3 separate regions of the Homo sapiens genome follow, and all the other regions are linked to region 3. Evidence: promoter capture Hi-C in 16 types of primary human blood cells and fetal thymus (Javierre and others, 2016). All regions are on one chromosome and are shown on one strand. The core of a region is centred on a gene start or on the middle of the fragment in contact, and the rest is flanking DNA. Distances in the headings are between cores, read along the strand shown. Region 1 overlaps CAPN14 (calpain 14). Region 2 holds the start of CAPN14 (calpain 14). Region 3 holds the start of LBH (LBH regulator of Wnt signaling pathway).

Region 1 (4,264 bases), core at 932-3,431, 940 kb before region 3:
TCTTTTATTCTGCAACCCTTCCTCTGCTATGGCCACTTAGAAATGATTCAGTCAAAGCTGGAATGTTTTTCTTGATCTCAAATGTCCATTTTATGGAATTGCTTTCCAAGCTGTAGGGACCTGCAGCCTGTGTCACCCCTCAATCCCTCCAAGATTTGATGTGAAGTGGGATTCTACTGGAGGGCCAATGGCCAGAATTTTCAGGGCCTATCCCTGGACTGCTTAGCCCCACACTTGAGTACTGGGGCATCGCTCCTGATCCCAGGCAATCCTTCCACAGTGGCTGGCTCAGGTCTAGGAGAATAGGACAACACAAATGTGGCACCTGAAATAGGACAGCCCAAAACTGAGCAGGGTCCAGTGGGCAAAGAGCTATCACAGGAAGAGAACTGCACTGGGGTCTGAGAACTGGGTTGAAGCCACAACACTTCTTGTAATTAGCTGTGGGGCCTTAGGCAAATTACATTAAATCTCTGGGCCTCAGCTGCCCCACAGGTGAAATGAGTGGAACTAGATGGTCTCTGAGATTGCCTCCAGCTCTGACCATCTGTGGCTCAGTGAGGATCAGGACCACCCAAGGTCTGCAGGGAATGGCAGCCACCTTGTTGGATTTCACGCTGAGGCTTTCTCTGACACCATTGGTAACTTCACTATTCTCAGCTTTATCATTCTGAGGGATTGGCCTGGGGAGTGGTTTCCCCAGAGGTCCCCTCTATATGAGTTAGAGGGGTTGTTCATCAAACCCACATAAAGCTGTCAGACCAAGGGCCCCATAAATGTAAACGTGTAGAATATGCTTTAATGGATTTCTGCTACCCTGCCAGTTTGCACACCTGCACAGAGCTGGCACAAGCATGCCAAATTGAATTCATGGGAAAAAAATTCATTGAGAACTGAATACAGAATCAGCCTGTATTTGACTGTCATCATTCATAGGCACCGTGAGAAGTCAAGGTTGATTATATTTCAAGTTGATTTATACTTCCTAATGGATGATATGCTCCCTCTGGCTAAACCATCCATTAATGTTCTGTCTCCATGGCTCCCCAGGAGTGTGGGATGGGGAGGCCCAGATGAGACGTGGGTCTGAACTGACCATCATTTGCTTTCCCAACATGTCCAGTGGATGATGATGGCACTGTACTCCTGAGAAGGCTGAGTCTCACCTGCCCTCACTGAAGACTCTGCATGTGGCCCAAGAGCAGCCTTTGGCTGAGACCAACCCATGCCCACCCTACTTACTGATCTTCAGGACAGCCTCACTAGCCGTCACCTTCTCAGCTGGGAAGGTTTCTCTTCTGCAGCCCTCCCCGTGCATGGCCAGCATGCAGAAAGGGAAGGGAGGAAGTAAAGATTACATCAGATTTGTAAAAGCTAGCCATCCTTCCCTGAGGCCACAACCTTGTCACAAGCGGAGATGTTACCTGACATGGCCTAAGCATTCTGACTCCAGAGCTGGTGTGGTTAGCCTCCATACAACACTGCCTCTGTGGCTGCAAACTCAAGTGACTTTAGACATGCCACATGTTCTCACATGGTGGGGTAATCATCTAGGTTTTAAGGTCTGAAATGGGAATGATATATCCTTAGACATTTAGTCCCAGCATCTGCAAATTGATAGAGACATAGGCTAAGTTTCAGCTGTTTGGGGATGGGGTCAGGGATATAGTGGGCTTTCAGAAACACAGACAGTAAGAGAATTGGCAGAGTCCAGGTGGGGTGGGCTGGCTCTGGCATCTGAGGTCATGGGGTAGTCTTCTTCTGACAATATCTCCGTATGATTGGATCTGGGGCAACCTAGTAGATTTAAAACACCTGAGTTCTCAAAGGGCTTCCTGCTTGTGACAGGTGTGTCTATTTGCTTGATATATAGACTATCAGATCCATTTCAAATCTGTCCAGAAATTCTCTGTCTATCTACTTCAAAGGACAAAAACAAACCCATGCTAAATTATAGAGTCAATCAGTGGGTGGTTGGTATATCTGATTTTTTGAACTACCATGAAACACCTTGTTTATGTCATCCCTCTCAACCAAGAATACAGGTGCAAAACCAGAACAATGGCCTTTTTCCAAAGTCTATGCAATTTATTCATAAGTTAGCACCTCAGAGCCATTTATTACTACAGGTTGAGCATCCCAAATCTGAAAACCCCAAATCTGAAATACTCCAAAATCTAAAATTTCTGAGAGTAGACATGAAACTCAAAGGAAATAGGGGCATTTTGGATTTTGAATTTTTGGGTTTGAGGTGTTCAACTGACAAGTCTATAATGCAGATATCCTGAAATCTGAAACACTTCTGGTCCCAAGCATTTTAGTTAAGAGATAGTCAACCTGTATTCTATTTAATCTTAATTTACAAACAATTCTAACAAACATGGCTGTTTGATTTCCAACTCCATAGCAGACTCAGGAAGGAAGCTGAATGAAGAGATAAAAGTGTGTCCATTGGCAGAGGACTAAAGGAGATTTGAGCACCTGTCAGATGGGTACTGTACCAGAAGAAAGGAGCACTTTGAAAGCGTAGCTTATGGGGTAGGAAAGTATTTTATTTAGGAAAAAAAACCCTTCATTTATTCCAAATGATAAAATGTAAAATGGGTTTCCATAAAGTGCCAGATACATGAGATGTTGTTGATTTTATAAATGATGATCATGTATTTACAGCCTTTTACAGTTTTTTATATCCATTGACTTATTTGTGTCTTTGTCTTTAAAATCTGCCATTGCAAATAGCTGTTTTAATAAACCAATTTTGCCTTGGCCCCTGAAGGCAGTTTTGGAGATATTTTTGGGTGATGGGAGGGTGACACCATGATCCTACTCATGACATTTAGACTATAGTGTGCTGGCTGTGTTGGTGCAGATAGATCTATCTCCACATTGATTAAGCCTGAGAGCCCCTCTGGTGACTTCTCAGTGGGTGGTTTGAGTGGTCCTACATCACTCAGGTGCTAGCCTCACTCTCCTGAGTCTAGGTATCTGCACTGTGGCAACTCAAAGATGACCTGTCTTTGCTGACACCCTTCCTCCAGATTCTCTCCTATACCCCCAAAGCTGAGTACTGAAGACCAGGGGGCAGAGCAATCTCCCCACTCCCACCACGCTTCCCCATCTTCTGTCACTCCAGGGGAAGCAGGGGCGGGAAAATAGAGATCTGGGGCAGGAGAAACTGGGCAAGCACCAGGGTGAAGTCAGCTGAAGGGCTGAGAGTTGACCATCAGCAGTTCTGGAATATCGAAAGCAGAAAGTCTGCCATGAATAAGAAAAAGTGGAAAGTGCAGCCAAGGAGGAGTGAGAAATCACCTGCCAGTGCCAAGGAGGGTGAGGTCAAGGAATCCAGAGGTTGGGTTGTCAAGTCCAGCCCACGCAGGGAAAGCATATCAAAGTGAGGCCTGTTCCAGGCTGTCACAATCTCAGGAAAACAGGACTCTACCTGAACAAGAGGAGATGAAAATACCTACCATTTATTTATCCCTGGTCTTGTTTCTTCTTTCATGTTTTGTATAAAACTTCAGTTATCCAAAGAGAACCTTCTAGATTGCAGATGTGGCCTGGAGCAAGGCACTTCCTGGCTGACTGTAAATAGCACTGTTTTCCTGCCATTGCTGTATTGAGTTAGAGAAATGATTTTGGCTTCCAGGATTTTGAACCTGATGTTTCCCCAATGAAGTATATGTATTTAGATTTATAATGAAGGAAAGGAGGAAATGAGTGTTGTGGGTGATGAGTAGGTAAAAGCGGGCATCATGGAGAAGCAGGCTGTGTATCAAGCTCTCAGGATCTCTGCAAAGATGGTCCTTTGGGGTCACTGGTCTCAGGTCCTGGGTTACCATCTTTTCTCCAGTGTCCTGAGGACAGAGAGGCTACCAAATCCAACAGAAATGAAAGAGAAGAGAGGTGAGAAGATGCACTCTAGCTGTGTGACATTGGACCTCAGTTTATTCATTTGTAAAATGGAGCCCAAATGCCTCCATTCCTGGGTCATTGTGAAGATTAGATAATGCCAGCAGGCTGTAGGCACCCAATGAATGAAGCTCCAATTTTTCCCCTGAGGTAGAACAAGTAATTTCTACAGCTACTATTACTTATTTTTATTTTGGTTTTTAGAGGACATAGTGAAACACCCATGGTTTTATGCTCTATTTCTCTTTTCCTCATCTTCTTCCACATCCTCTTTCTGAATGTATCAAACTACTTCCTTGAAGTGGGGCACCAGGAGGGCCACTCCAGTCTCCAATGCAGGGACTCAGGGGCAGGG
Region 2 (4,724 bases), core at 951-3,450, 990 kb before region 3:
GGGGTGCTGCTGACTTCAAGGCACTTTGTCCCTCTTTTCTTGCATCTTCTGGGCATCAGTCGCAATGTCTTATTCACTTTTGTATCCTTGAAATTAGTCATGGTTTATTTACCACCAGGGCTTCTTTCCGACTATACCCCAATGACATGAAACAGAAGCCTTGCAACCGTCTCTCGGAAGGAAATGCAGAAACCACGCTGTTCTCCCTGGCGATCAGTGTTCCCTGTCATGAGCATCATAATGGCAAATACAAATACATTTTCTGCCAAGAAAGATAGGTAGTTTACAAGTCAGAAGGAAAACAAAGCCAAAAGTAAACCAAAAAAAAACCAAACCCCAAAAAGGCAGATGAACACAGGTAAAACTGTGAGACACTTGGAGAAAATGATATCAGGAACAAAGAAAGGGTCAAGAAGAGAATGGTTAGAAATATGTTCCTTAGTAGTGTATTGATTTGGACCCATTAAACAATGCCAAGTACACAATTAAAATAGAGGCAGAAAATAAGAAACATGCACTGTACCTGCCTTGCCTCCCTGATTGGCATGGCTCACAGCCCTGTCCCCAAGCCCTCCCCAGACAGAGCAGTCCTTGTCAATCAGAATTCACTCAAATTATTTGTTATGAATAAATGTTCTTGAAATTTTAATTAGCTCTCTGATAACTTAGGAAAACACCCTTCTGTTGAGAAAATAGCTTGTCTGTGTTTATTTTTCAAACTTCATAGTGAATTTCTTAACGAATATTTTTCTGTGACATTCTAAAAATATTGTGAATGTGAAGGATTTAATAACTTAGGTCTTGGAATTTACTTTGAAACCTTGGCGATGACTTTTCATTTATGAGCTACCCCACAAAGCCTCTTTTTATTATCTCGGTTCTTGGATAAATTTCTAATGCTTGAAAGTTATATATGGAATCATCAATTTTTCCTTTCATTCTTCTGAACTTGTTATTGTCTTTTCTCCCACTCACAAATCAAAGCCCTTCTCTTCTCCTTGTTGGATCCTGGTTTTGAAAATGTATAACCAAACGAACAAAAATCAGGTGGAAAAAAACATCAAGGAATAGCATGACTTGTCAGTTAGTGGCGTGATCTTGGCTCACTGCAACCTCTGCCTCCCTGGTTCAAGCGATTCTCCCACCTCAGCCTCCTGAGTAGCTGGGATTACAGATGTGTGCCACCACACCCAGCTAATTTGTGCAGTTTTAGTAGAGTTGGGGTTTCACCATGTTGGTCAGGCTGTTGGTCATGTTGGTCTCCTGACCTCGTGATCCGCCTGCCTCGGCCTCCCAAAGTGTTGGGATTACAGGCGTGAGCCACCATGCCTGGCCGTCAGTTAGTTTTATGAAGCTTTGGTGCTGCTGCAGCCACCACAGCCTGACATCCCCTGTCTGTGGGGCTGCCAGAAGTAACCCTGGCCAGGGTAATGCTACCCCATGACTTTCTCGCTTTACTCTTATGTTGGCAAAGGGAGAATCAATGGTTAGAGCTTAGCCATAGGCATTTCAGTAGTTTTTCTTATTTACAGTTGTGTTGGATACAAAACAGTTTTACTTGTTCCTTAACGTGAGTCTAATGAAACCCCATAAATAACCTGTGTGCCCATGAAGGGTCACCTTGGAGCAGTCATTATTTACTATCTCAGTACTCTATTTTATTCCTCAACTGGATTTTTTTACTTCTTATTTCAGTGCCCCAAATTCCAACAATCAGGGATTCATTTGGAAAAGGAGTTCTCTATTTTAAAAAATGCAAATATTATGGTGAGGTTAAGGACTTGGAAGCTATTCACACAGTAGTGAGACATCAGGAATTCAATTTGATTGCTTTCCCGTGCCCTGAAGGAATGAGAATTTTGATTAGAGGGAAAGGAAGGAGAAACTTTAGAGAGCAATTAGGTTTGTGGGAGAGGCAGATTATTTAGGGCACTTGGACTCTTCTAGAAGAAGTGGGAAGTAGGACATTAGAAGGTGCCACAGACGCATTTGACCTCCTTTGAATGTTTGCTCAAGGCTGGTCCCAAACAGAATCATAATATGTTGTAACAGAAAGTAGAGAGATGACGAGCACAACTGTGTTTCACATGATTGAGTCCCAGAAAGAGGAAATGGCTTGCCCAGCTTCACAAAGTTAGTGAACCTACATCTGTGTTTCTGACTTTCAAGCCAACCCTCATTCTCCAATACTCCACTGTGCCACCAGCCGAGGAATGCATTTCCCTCTTCTTTGCCTCCAGGACTTAGAACTCTAGCAAGTGCTCCGGTTCTACTGCTCCTGAGCTTGTGAAGCCCATCAAAGCCTTTCTGGGAAAGGCTTCACCACTCCTAAAATCTTGTTTCCACGGGAAAGTAAATTTCTGGTCATAAATCACAAACTTGCCAACCCACTTCTGGTCCACAGCCCACTGTGGGTCAGGATTGCCTGTGCCTTGCAGAGACAGAAGGCTCATCACCAGATGCACTTGCCTTCACTGCCTTTTTCTCAGGCATACTAGTCTGTCCTGGGTGACAGTCGGAAGCCTGGGGAAGGGATGTATGACCTCTGAGATGTTAAAAGGCCACAGTGCTGCTGTGCAAGGCTCCCCGGCCATCTGTTTCCTGTCACCCAGGACAATAACTTTCAAGAGTTGTCACGGGAGGAAATGGCCCTTGGGCCTTACCCTATGCGTCTCGGTGGCTCTGTGAATCCGCAGCACAATTTATGGTAAGCCCAGTGGTGACCATAACAACAACTTAGACATAGAGTGAGCCTAACCCTGTGCCAGGTGCAGGGTGCTGTCCCAAGGGATGAGCGGAAGCCCCCCACCTGGAGTCCCTGAAAAGATGATGAATAGAAGGGGGAAGATAACTAAGGGCCAGGATGAGGAGATGAAAATGAAAAGGTTATGTCTGGGAGATAGATAATAATAATAATGGTCTTCCCAGATCCACTGCTTCTGCTATCCTCATAACACCTTCAGACCCATGCGAGGAAGGGTGGCTATTTGGCACATGAGGCAGGGGGAAGGCTCCAAAGAGCGTTTAGCTCAGGAAGAAAGCTTTGGATTTGATTTGACAGTGGCAGGGAGACAATTCCTTGACAAAGATGAGGAGAAGTTAGTGGAACCTGACACCCTGGGACTTTAGCCCCATCTCTGCTGTTTACTGGCTGCGGTTATCTTGGGCGAGTTGCCATGCTGTGCCTCCGTTTTCTTTTTGTAGAATGTGGATAATAATAGCACTACCTCACAAAGTTGTGAAGATTCCATGAGATTCTGCATGCAATGTGCTTAGCATTGTGCTTGGCATGTCATAAGTGCTCAAAACGTGTTGGCTATTATTATCAATATTAGTTAATTTATCAGTACTAATAAAATGGGTGGAGTGATAATCACACAAAATGATTGAGTTGGAGAGATTAGAGTCAAGGCAGAGGCCAAGAAGCAGGCGGGGAGGAAGAGGACAGAGGATTTCCACAGGCAAGGGACTCTGATTCCACTGACACATATTGAGCACCTCCTGGGTACTAGGCATGGTTCTGGGTTCTGGGGATCCTAGGTGTGCAAGCGTGGAGGCAGGCAAGCTGGAACCAACTAAGCTGCTATGATGGAAATCTGTGCAAGTGGTGGTGGGAACCTAGGAGAAGGATTTGGGGGTGGGGGTGGGGAGGGAGTGAAGAAGTCTAGAGCAACCACAGGAGGGCTAAGAAATGCTTTAAGGGAAGAACAACCAGATTTGGAGCAACGGGACCCAAGGTGAACTGTGAGGAGACAACCAGTGGGAGGTCAATGTTCTGAGTCCCAGATGGCCAAAATGGGGGATTTGGAAAGTAGGTTGGGAAGGAAGAGGGAGCGATCTCAATAGCACAAATGAATCACAGATTTCCTCCTTAGCAGGAAACATCCCTGAGGGCTGCCTCAGACTCTGACAACCATAAAAGAAAACCCACAGCCACCTCTTGAAAATACTTTCCAGGCTTCTGTCAATGTTAGTTTAAACATAGGGATGTACAGGAATCTCTGTCTTGGTTCTTTGGTGTCCTGGGAGTTGTGGGGAGGTGAGCAAGCAGTATCATGTGCTCCTGCAGTGAAATGCTTTTCTAGGTCACACCTGAAAGTACCCTCCCCAGGGTTGGAAGTGAGAAGATGACTAACTCTCTCTCATTAAGGCATTACTGAAACAGGCTTTCTCTGTATGGTGTTCTAAAGAAATAATTGGATTTGTGTAATCCAGTCGCAAAGCCCTGGGTACTCCACTCCCTTCCAGAGAACACACAGTGGGGAGGAACCAAGGTCCTGGGAGGTGGGGTCGCAAATTCTTGGCTAAACACCATGTGTAGAAAGGACCCATATATAAGAGGTGGTTTCAGGCTGCATGCTTCTGACTGCACCGGGATTAGAGCTTGCCCAGGCGCTTAAAGAAGCAAAATCTCCTGTGCAGGTAAATTTCTTTAGTTCCAAGGGTGGGTCCAAGTTAGCCCAGAGGCCCTATGAGACTCTACAGGGTCTGGGTTTAGAAGGTGAGAGGATGGTATTTGCTTCTCCTGGTTTGAGCTTTGCAGGTGAGTGTATACAGAAAAAACCCTGGAGTCTGGAGATTTCAATTTTGTCCTCAGTTTTGCCATCACTTATTAGTGTGACCTTGAGGAATAGACTTCAGCCCTTTGGCCCCAATCTCCTCATTTAAAAAAAAAGATGGGAGTATCTTTGGGCCTGGGTAATTTCTGAGGTCCCTCCAGCTCT
Region 3 (4,563 bases), core at 1,704-4,203:
GCGGGGGCTGAGGCCGATCTCCTCCATGGGCTGGGTGTTCATCATCACCTCAGTCATCTTGGCCGATCTCAGATAGTCGGGGCTGCCAAGAAACCCAGACCAAAAGTCAACAAACACACGCGCTTTCACATTCCTAACTCTTCATGCATTCACTGCTGTGGGATCAGGGGACTGTCTGGAGACAGGAAGAGAGGTGTTCAAAACAGAACTTGCAGCAAAACAAGCTCACACCCTGAGGAAGCGCCTTGCAAGCCCACAGCCCCAGGGCTCAGCCGCAACAGACAAAGCCCATTGTCTGCAGACCTCTCTGGCAAACCTCTTCCCTCCTCTCCTGTACTCTAGTCCCCACTGGCACAGAGGGACCCTGAATGTTTCTTTAAATGACAGAACCAGAGAAACCAAAACAGTAGGTAGCTGAGTCCATCTGTCTATATTAAAACCAATTCAACCACATCTCCCTTCACTTCTCCAACTAAGAATAAAAATAATCCTCACATGAACTTTCCAAAGGGGAACTCTATATATTATTAATACACAATAACAATAACAGGTCAACTGGAGGGAAACAAAGTCCAATCATACAGCTTTCCTAAATTTGTCTCTCTGGTGCTCCTTTTGGCAAAATGTTCCACTTAAAGCCCCAAGGGGTCAGCTTTTCTGCAAGTTTCACATCTGCCATCCATCCCCTTTCTCTAGCCCCAGACACAGCAGCTGCATGCTCACAGCTTGAAAAACATCCCCTGGATTAAAAGCCTTAAGGATACCCGACTCTGACTGCAAAGGAAATTTCCAGAGGGGCCAAGCTGGCCCACCAATGGCTGACATGTGAAAGTGCCTTGTACTCTCTAAGCAGGATACGAATATTCCCTTATCCTTGCACAAACTCTGGGCACATACAGGATCCCGTGCACATAATGCTGAACATAAGCACCAAATACAGGTACCTGCTACACAGCACCCAATGCTTTCCACCATCGTGCCTGTGCACATGGTTTAAAACAAAAATATGGGGGAGTCTTTTGAGGGACAGTATCTAAGGAAACAGGGGTACCAGATGCCTCTTCAATTGTATGGTTACTACATAGATAAGAAATGACACTGGATTTAGAAACAGAAGCAATAGGTTCTAGGCTCTGCCCCTCAAGAACTGTGTGATCTTGAACAGGTCCTGTAACTTCTCTGAGCCACAAGTGTCCTGTTTGTCTGTTACTCTGATGCTAATAGTGCATACCTCACAGTTAGGTTAAGGGCTAATGTCTGCATAAAAGCATTGCAAGCTGCAAAGTGCTAATCGATGAAATAAACTTAAACCTTAATTTCTCATAATATTCTTAATGGGTCCAAACACCCACCTTGGCAAATTTTGAGCAGCCAAAGGCACAAAGCCTCCAACAGCCTTCAAAGCTTCACCTATAATAAGGCACCTAGCTGCTCACACACCACGGGAGAGGCAAGGGAGGGGCACCCACAAGAAGGGTACACAAGCCTCGGGGTGGGGGAACTTGAACTGTTGAGAGAGGGAAGTTCAGTCCCCTCTCTAAACACTGCCAGGCTGGGACGGATGGGGGCAGGGAGACTAACAGAAGATGCGGGGCTTTGCGGCAAGTTTAGGTTCGGGAGCTGGGCCCTGCAAAGGCAGTTTCCTCCCGGGTCTTGGAAAGGCTGCTGGCGACCTCCAAAGAAAGGAGCCAGAAGAGCGCACGCAGGGTGAAGAGTCTGACGTAGGGGCGGCTCTTCCTCGCTCGGGGCTGTGGCGCCGGCCCGAAAAGTTGAAGCGAGAAGCATGAACTTTCCGCTTCTTGGGCCAGGCCGGACCCCGCCGCGGCTTGCGCCGGTTTTCCCTTCGCTCAGCGCCTGCCGGAGACTCGGGGCCGAGCTCCCCACGTCCGCACCTGAGAGCGCGCTCCGGGGCTGCCGGCGCTCGCCCCCGGCCGCTTCTCCTCTAACCCAGAGCAGGAAGGAAGAAACTGCCAGCAAGGAAGTCCCAGCAGTCAGGGGCCTGCCTCTCTCTGCATCCCTCCCGGCTCCGATCCCCAGTCCGGGGCAAACCTCCGACGCCCCGCGCCCGGCCCGGGCTCCTTCCCCTTCAGCACGGCGAAGGCGGCTCCTCCCAGTCCCGGCCCCCACCAATGTGCGTCGGTTTTTAGGGGCGGTGGAGAGGGCAGGGGTTGAGAGGCTGCAGCGCGTGCCCTGCTGCTTGTGGCTTTAGTGGGGTTACGTGTGGGGAGAGCGTTTCCCGCCCCCCACCCCCCCGGAGCTCTGCAAACCCTGCGGCCGCACCAGCTCAGCCCCGCTGCTGCCGGCCTCGACGTTGAGACTTGCATGCAAACAAAAAGAAAAAGAGGAGGGGCCCGGGAAGAGCAGGAGCCCCCCTGCGCCAAGTGGGGCGCGCGCCTCCTGCAGCTCTCCGCATAGGGTGGTTTCATTGGGGGGGATTCACACGTGACCCCTGGCTCCCCCGCCAACCAATACAAACCCTCCGGCCGTCACTTAGGTGAGGGCTCCGAGTTCACGTCCTTTGTCTGGATGTTCTCAGCACCCCCTCCCCCCACCCCCACCTTTGCAACCTTGACGTTGACTCCTGCACGGGCTCGGGCGGCGGGTTAGCGCTGAGCGCCCGCGCCGCCGGCTGCCCTCGCACCCGGAGCCGGCACGAAGCAGGCGCCCGGGCCCGCAGCCACCGCCGCGAGACAGACGCCCGCCGCAGGCGCAGGGTACTCACCAGTGAATGGGGAAATATATAGACATGAAGTCCTAGGGCAGGCTGACACACGCCCCTGTGATTTAAAAACGGTCCCTGCGTCCCGAGTGAGGATGACACGGGCGCAGACGGGCACGGCAGGCGGCCGAGTGCGGACACCGGGCGCTCGCCGTCCGCCTTCCCAGGACAGCCCCACGGCTAGCGACGTCGGCAAGGTGGACACAACTCCCCGCTCTCCACTGAGCACTCAGCCCCACAAAGAGCCCGGGAAGCCGTATTTATAGGGGCGGGGGCGGGGCTTGGCCCCGAGAGGCCCCGCCCTCCCTCGCCCACTCCTGGAATAACGTCACCAAAATCATGAATGGCTTCAGCGCTCGCAGCTCCGGCGGGCGGCGGCTCGGGGGCGCGCTCGGCTCTGCTCCCGGGGCCGTGGTTCGCTGCGGCTGCGAGCCCGGCCCCCTCCCGCCGCTCTCCCACGCGCACACGCGCTCACTCGCACCGGCCCGGACTCCGCGTCCGCGCCGCTTCCCGCTCACAGCCCCCTCCACGCACACCCCGAACTCCAGCGCGGCGGAGGTGGGCGCAAGGAGGGCGCGGGGGCCGCTCGGGACATGACAGCTCGGCGGCTGCTCTGCGCCGGGGTAGGGCACCCGCCACTCCTCCACCCCAGCCGCCCGGCGCCAGCGCCCTCCTTCCCATCCACTGGCTGTCCCCAGCCCACCTCGGACCCCTCTGAAGCGTTTGTTCCCCATACTAGGCCTCTCTCTGGAATCCTCGCCCGCAGCCTTGCGATCAGCGAGGGGAAACAAGAGCATGGTTAAAGAAGAAGCGGTGGGAAGGTGGCAGAGACGCGGAGCCGGGGGACCGAGTGCCCACGGGGCGCGTTGGCTTGCGAAGGGCTGGTCTGCAGCCCTGAGTTCCGTGGAAGGTTTTATTTGTGGGAGCAAGGATGTGGTGTCGTCCTGGGTAGGATTTTTCCATTGGAGACACACATACGCCCGGTCTGCAGCGGGGGCAGAAGGTGTGGGCGGGCGGTGTGCACGCCGCCCCCCATCCTTGACTCCCACGTCTTCTCCGAGGAGTCGCTCATGACAGCAGAAACAAAGAGCTTTAGCCGAACGCCTCCCACACTGCCCAGGAATTGCAGCTCTGGGCGTCTGTCCAGGCAGTCAAAGCTGCGCAGCCCCCCAGAGCCACATGATGGGAGTCTCACTCGGGACCCAGCGCTGCCGCTCTGTGGCCTCCGCTTCAATCACGCCTGTAAAATGGCTTTAGAACCCTCACCTACCTGTGTATAGGGGCTGAGGAAAGGGGGCGCGGGGAGATCAAAAACTAAGCAAAATTAAATTGGCTTTGAAGTGAATCAGCTTTTTAAAAGAAAGGCAGTGAGTGTATTGAATCCGTATATATGTACTTGAAAGTGGAAACGCATAGCTTATCTCAGGCAAAAGGATGACAGAATTAATGGCGAAGGTTCGACAGGGGTAGGACCCTGAAGGAAGCCGTGAGAGAAGACCCTCATAATTTTCATCAGTCCCCGCAAAACCAGCCCAAACAAAAATTATAAGAATTGATGAGAATAATTTATTTAAAAATAACTGGGCTATTTTCAATCACTTATATGCTTATATGTACAACCTGAGTTAAAATAGTGTGCTTCCTATGAAAACACAGCTTCATGACAAGCCCCTGGCTGCCCCCTCCAACCAGAGAAATTCCCCCACCTCCCAAGCTAAACGCATTCTCTTCCTCTGGGGGTGTTGCCTGATGGAGGGGCTAAACGGGAGATGCTGCAGGGATGGGGTTATTGTTGATGTCCTGCACAGAGGGTGGGGAAGCTTCTCAGTGTCACTAGCCAGGTG

What was found. The method cuts DNA at HindIII sites, captures the fragments that hold promoters and counts their contacts. A CHiCAGO score of 5 or more calls a contact.
Region 1: a contact is called between a fragment that was not itself captured here and the fragment with the promoter of LBH in region 3, in 1 of 17 cell types (neutrophils). The highest score is 5.6, in neutrophils.
Region 2: a contact is called between a fragment that was not itself captured here and the fragment with the promoter of LBH in region 3, in 4 of 17 cell types (total B cells, naive B cells, monocytes and 1 more). The highest score is 10.9, in total B cells.

The regions. Positions count from the first base shown.
Region 1 is chr2:31,171,567-31,175,830 of GRCh38, reverse strand. CAPN14 (calpain 14) reads left to right here. Exons shown (of 22, transcript NM_001145122.2): 22 at 1,124-2,775. The coding sequence ends at 1,150. Among named protein-coding and RNA genes, the nearest start is that of GALNT14, 35 kb to the right of the region's middle. The HindIII fragment of the contact is 4,969 bases long and covers 1-4,264 here.
Region 2 is chr2:31,217,154-31,221,877 of GRCh38, reverse strand. CAPN14 (calpain 14) reads left to right here and starts at 4,363. Exons shown (of 22, transcript NM_001145122.2): 1 at 4,363-4,422. The HindIII fragment of the contact is 1,687 bases long and covers 1,357-3,043 here.
Region 3 is chr2:30,229,924-30,234,486 of GRCh38, reverse strand. It overlaps LBH (LBH regulator of Wnt signaling pathway), which reads right to left and starts at 2,953. Exons shown (of 3, transcript NM_030915.4): 1 at 2,723-2,953; 2 at 1-82. The coding sequence starts at 2,748. RefSeq lists silencers at 1,954-2,013, 2,024-2,223, 2,614-2,703, 2,904-3,453 and enhancers at 3,257-3,771, 3,772-4,287. The HindIII fragment of the contact is 3,135 bases long and covers 1,407-4,541 here.